2 separate regions of the Homo sapiens genome follow, and region 1 is linked to region 2. The links are contacts of gene promoters, found by promoter capture Hi-C in blood cells and fetal thymus (Javierre and others, 2016). All regions are on one chromosome and are shown on one strand. Each heading gives the region's core, a stretch centred on a gene start or on the middle of the fragment in contact. The rest is flanking DNA. Distances are from core to core; before and after follow the strand shown.

Evidence for each region. Contacts are between HindIII fragments. The CHiCAGO score rates a contact against its expected background, and 5 or more counts as called.
Region 1: a contact is called between a fragment that was not itself captured here and the fragment with the promoter of LRRC3 in region 2, in 1 of 17 cell types (M1 macrophages). The highest score is 7.4, in M1 macrophages.

Annotation. Positions count from the first base shown.
Region 1 is chr21:44,789,796-44,792,693 of GRCh38, forward strand. The region is part of intron 1 of UBE2G2 (ubiquitin conjugating enzyme E2 G2); the gene reads right to left. Among named protein-coding and RNA genes, the nearest start is that of UBE2G2, 11 kb to the right of the region's middle. The HindIII fragment of the contact is 3,844 bases long and covers 1-2,898 here.
Region 2 is chr21:44,454,067-44,456,939 of GRCh38, forward strand. LRRC3 (leucine rich repeat containing 3) reads left to right here and starts at 1,444. Exons shown (of 2, transcript NM_030891.6): 1 at 1,444-1,589; 2 at 2,432-2,873. The coding sequence starts at 2,579. It overlaps LRRC3-DT (LRRC3 divergent transcript), which reads right to left and starts at 1,218. Exons shown (of 4, transcript NR_047476.1): 1 at 1,178-1,218; 2 at 911-986. RefSeq lists an enhancer at 441-941 and silencers at 1,105-1,284, 1,373-1,802. The HindIII fragment of the contact is 8,140 bases long and covers 1-2,873 here.

The sequences.
Region 1 (2,898 bases), core at 295-2,794, 340 kb after region 2:
GTGGTATTGGGAGGTGGGACCTTTGGGAGGAGATTAGGTCAGGAGGGCAGAACTCTCATGAATGGAGTTAGTGCCTTTATAAGAAGAAACGAGAGATTTGCCTCTGGCCATGTAAGGGCACAAGGAGAAGACAGTCATCTGCAAACCAGGAAGACAGCCCTCACCAGACTTCCCAGCCTCCAGAATTGGGAGCAATAAATGTTTGTTGTTTAAGCTCCCTGGTCTTTGGTATTTTTTTACAGCAGCCTGAACTGACTAAAACAGATGGCTAATAAGCACATGAGAAAATGCTCAACATTGTGAATCATAAGGGTAATGCAAATTAAAACCACAATAAGATACAGCTCAATAGCTTCAGCATTATCAGTATCTTTAGTCACAAAAGAATGGCCAAAATTAAAGACTTAAAGTGCTGGCAAGTTTAGCAAGTAGATCTCTCATGCACCACTGATGGGAATGCAAAATGGTTTGGTTACCCTTTGGGAAAGAAGTTTGACCATTTCCACTAAAATTACATATATATTGACTCTAAGACCCAGCAATTCTACTGGGTCTTATGTTGCCATAGACTTTTGTGTGAATGTTCATAGTAGCTAAATTCGTAATAGCCCCAAACTGGAAACAACCCAAATGTCCATTGATATGGTTTGGCTTTGTGTCCCCACACAAATTTCATCTTGAATTGTAATCTCCAGGTGTTGAGGGAGGAACCTAGTGGAAGGTGACTGGATCATGGGGGCAATTTCCTCCATGCTGTTCTCATGACAGTGAGTTCTCATGAGATCTGGTGGTTTTATAAGTGTTCGAAAGTTCCTCCTTCACTCTTCTTTCTTGCCACCTTGTGAAGAAGGTGCTTGCTTCCCCTTCGGCTTCTGTCATGATAAGTTTCCTGAGGCCTCCCTAGCCATGTGGAACTGTGAGTCAATTAAACCTCTTTCCTTTATAAATTATCCAGTCTCAGGGAAGTTCTTATAGGAGTGTGAAAACAGATGAATACAGTAAATTGGTACCAGGGGTACTGCTATAAAGATAACCTGAAAATGTGGAAGCAACTTCAGAACTGGGTAGTAGGCAGAGGTTGGAACAGTTTGAAGGGCTTAGAAGAAGGAAGATGTGGGAAAGTCTGGAACTTCCTAGAGACTTGCTGAATGCTTTTGACCAAAATGCTGATAGTGACATGGACAATGAAGCCCAGGCTGAGGTGGTCTGAAAAAGAGAAGAGGAACTTCTTGGGAACTGGAGCAATGGTCACCCTTGCTATGTTTCAACAAAGAGAATGGTGAGATTTTGCCCCTGCCCTAGAGATCTGTGGAACTTTGAACTTGAGAGAGATGATCTGAAATTGGAACTCGTGTTTAAAAGAAAGCAGGGAATAAAAGTTTGAAAACTTCGCAGCATGACGGTGCAATAAAAAAGAAAAACCCATTTTCTGGAGAGAAATTCAAATAAGTAACAAGGAGCCAAATATTAATCGCCAAGACAATGGGGTAAATGTCTCCAGAGCATGTCAGAGATCTTGGCAGCAGCCCCTCCCATCACAAGCAGGGAGGCCTAGGAGGGAAAAATGGTTTTGTGGGCCAGGCCCAGCCCCGCTGCTACTCTGTGCAGCCTTGGTACTTGGTGCCCTGTGTCCCAGCTGTTCCAGCTCCAGCCATGGCTAAAAAGGGCCAAGGTACAGCTCAGGCTGTTGCTTCAGAGAGTACAAACCCCAAGCCTTGGCAGCTTCCACGTGGTGTTGGGCCTGTGGGTGCAAAGAATTCAATAACTGACGTTTGGGAACCTTCACCTACATTTCAGAGGATGTAGGGAAACGCCTGGATGTCCAGACAGAAATCTGCTGCAGGGGCAGGGCCCTCATGGAGAACATCTGCTAGGGCATTGCAGAAGGGAAATGTGGGGTTGGAGCTCCCAGAGTCCCCACTGGGGCACTGCCTAGTGGAGCTGTGAGAAGAGAACAACCATCCTCCAGACCCCAGAACGGTAGATCCACCAAGAGCTTTGCACTGTGCACCTAGAAAAGCCAAAGACACTCAATGCCCACCATGAAAGTAGCTGAAGGGGGTGGGTGTGGGAGGGCTGTACCCTACAAAGCCACAGGGGCAGAGCTGCCCAAGACCATGAAAGCCACTCCCTGTATCAGTGTGCCCTGGATGTGAGACACGGGGTCACAAAGGAGACCATTTTGAGCTTTAAGATTTAATGACTGCCCAGCCGGATTTCGGACTTGCATGGGGGCCTGTAGCCCTTTGTTTTGGCCAATTTCTTCCATTGGTAATGGGAGTATTTATCCAATGCCTGTATTTCCATTGTATCTTGAAAGTAACTAACTTGCTTTTGATTTTACAGGCTGCTAGGCAGAGGGGACTTACCTTGTCAGAGATGAGACTTTGGACTTGGACTTTTGAGTTAATGACGAAATGAGTTAAGACTTTGGGGGCCTTGCTGGGAAGGCATGATTTGTTTTGAAATGGAATGGTTTTGAAAGGAACATGAGATTTGGGAGGGGTAGGGGGAGAAATGACATGGTTTGGCTTTGTGTCCCTACCCGAATCTCACCTTGACTTGTAATCCCCAAAGTGTTGAGCGAGGAACCTGGTAGGAGGTGACTGGATCATGGGGGCAGTTTCCCTCATGCTGTTCTCGTGATAGCGAGTTCTCAGGAGACATGATGGTTCTATAAGTGTGTGGCAAGTTCTTCCTTGGCTTGCTCTTCTCTCTCCTACCGCCTTGAGAAGAGGTCTGTTTCCCTTTCTGCCATGACTATAAGTTTCCTGAGGCCTCGTCAGTTATGCAGAACTGTGAGTCAACTAAACCTCTTTCCTTTATAATTACCCAGTCTCAGGTAGTATCTTTATGGCAGTATAAGAACGGACTAATGTACCGATTAACCGTTTAATG
Region 2 (2,873 bases), core at 194-2,693:
GAAAATAAACAACCCAATTAAAAGTGAGTAAAAGATTTGAACTCAACGCTTACTACAGGAGATGGAGAATAAACAGATGAAATGATGCTCAACATCATTGGCCAACAGGGAAACGCAAATTAAAACCACAGTTCCATCTATCACCACACACCTATTAGAGTATTTGAAATTAAAAAGACAAACCATACCAAGTGCTGGGGAGGATGTGGAATGTAAAACCATACAATCGCTTTGGCAGTTTCTTAAAAAGTTTCACATATGGCTACCGTGGCATCCAGCCACTCCACTCCTAGACATCTATTCAAGAGAAAGAAAAGCATTCATCCAAAGACTTGTGCACAATGTTCGGATCAGCTTTATCTGTAAGAGCCAACACCAGAAACAACCCAAATGCCCACCAGCAGGTGAATGGACACAAACTGTGGTACATTCATACACTGGAGTACCATGCAGCTGTAAAAGAAATACGCATTGACAAACCAAATGACGCAGGCAAATCTCAAAAATAATTGTGCTGAGTGAAAGAAGCTACACAAAAAGTACATATTATATGATTCCATTTGTGCAAATCATAGGAAATGCAAAGTAATCAGTAGTGACAGAATGCAGATCAGTGCTTGCCTGGGGATGAGGGAGGGCAGGGAGAGATGACCAAGAGGGAACCCGGGGTGTTCACTATGCTGATTGTGGTGATGGTTTCACAGGAGTATCCGAGTGTTAAAACGTACCAAATTGAAATATGTGGCTTACCGTCTGTCAATTACACCACAATAAGGCTACTTTTTGAAAACCATGAGGATGGCTCAGGTCCGGCTCAAATGCCCCCACCCTGCGTTCCTTCCTTGGGATGTCAGACGCTGGAGCTGGAGCAGAAGGGGACCTAGATGGGCGGAGATCTAGCCCTACTCACCCACTGGCCACGGGGTAGGCGAGGGACGCTCAGCAGGGGCTTCCCGCAGACCCAGGGTCTTCAAGCCCCAGAAGTCCTGATGCCAGAGGGAAGAGGGGATTTGCCCAGAGTGAGGGGCAGGGGCTGGACCCACAGCCCCTCCCGGCGCGCAGACCCCGCCCCCACCCATAACCACGCCCTCAGCCCCCACCACCTCGTCCTCAGCCCCACAACCACGCCCCCAGCATGCCACAATTACTCCCACAACCCGCCCACAGCCCCTGCGACCTGGGTCTTAGTACCAGCTCCATCTAAAGCCGCACCACCGGCCCCTCCCATGCCCCTCCCATGCCCCTCCCCCATCTCTTCCAGGCCCCGCCCTGCCGCAGAACCCGCCCTCAAGCCCCGCCCCCGCCTAACCACAAATCCCGTTCCGGTCTCCTTACATGCCCCGCCCCTTCCCCGCCCCCGCGGGGAATCGACACAGCCTGTCTCCGCCTTTCGCCCCGCCCCCTCCAGGCCCCGCCCCACCCCGCCCCTCGCCCGCGCAGGCCGGAGTCGCGGCCTCCCCAGCTAGTGGTCGCGGGCGCGGTCGCAGGGGCAGCGGGGTGGCCGCCGCGCCAGGCGTGGAGCTGGGTCTGGCGGGCTCCGAGAGGCCCGGGAGCGGCGCGCAGAGCAGCCTCCGGCCGCCGCCGCGCAGGTAAAGCCCCCGCCCAGCCCTGGGAGCGTGGATTCCCACCCACCCCATGACCATCCCCCCGCCGCGAGTGCTGGGGTCTCGGGGGTCCCAGGTTCCGGGGGTCCTAGGGCCGGAGGGTCTAAAGGCTGGAGGTCCTGGGGGTCCGAGCCTCTCCCGGCCGGCTCCGCGCGCGGCCCCGCCGTCCACGCCCAGCGCGGGCCGCGCGCACAGGGCTTGGCTTCTCTGTTTTCTCGGTTTCCTTCTTCAGGCAGTTGAAAGAAAAGGCGCGGTTCTGTGCCCGGTGCGAGCCGCGGCTCCTTTAGGGCTGGCAGGGAAGGGCTTGCTGGGTTATGACAGTTTTTAGGGGTTGTCGGAGTCAGCCAGGCGTTGGCTGCTGGAGTAGCCCCTGGCGCGCGAGCGCCCGCTGGTGCCCGGCCACGTGCCCAGCTTGACCCGCGCTCCAGGTTCGGGAGAAGCTGCAGCCGTCACCGTCCTCCTGGCGTCCACCCTGAGGAGGGAGGGGCTGGGTGGTCCAAGCCGCCGCCACTCCGCCGCCCGGCCTTTGGTCCCCAGCGGTGCTGTAGGTGGCCAGGGGTGGCCGCAGTGACCACCCACTGGGCCATGCGGAGCCCCCTGGCAGTGCCAGCTCCCTGCACTTGTGGGACGCTCCTCCCGGGCGCATTGGGAGTCTCCAGAAGTAAGTTACAGGCAGAGCTGTTTAAGGAGGCGTGCTCCCCACCCCAGACCCTTCAGTGGGCCCTCAACACCCTCCCCACCAGTGGACGCGTTTCCCAGGTGACCGCAGCCGGCAGTGCTGACCACCCTCCCTCCCTCTCCGCTCCCTCCTGCGTCTTCCCTTTCAGAGCTGCCAGAGTGGACTGCACTGCTTCTCCCAGCGGGGCAGGATGGCGGTTTCATGTCTGGTTGGATAAGGCCTTGCCTGCGGAAACCAGCTCCATCCCCAGGCCCTAGCAGAGGCTCGCGTGTCCCCGTCCCCAGGTCAGGTCAGGATGGGCACCGTGCGCCCACCTCGCCCCTCGCTCCTGCTGGTCTCCACCCGGGAGTCTTGTCTCTTCCTCCTCTTCTGCCTGCACCTGGGCGCCGCCTGCCCACAGCCCTGCCGGTGCCCTGACCACGCAGGGGCTGTGGCTGTCTTCTGCAGCTTGCGGGGCCTTCAGGAGGTCCCCGAGGACATCCCGGCCAACACCGTGCTCCTGAAGCTCGATGCCAACAAGATCTCCCACCTCCCGGACGGGGCCTTCCAGCACCTGCACCGGCTCAGGGAGCTGGATCTGTCTCACAACG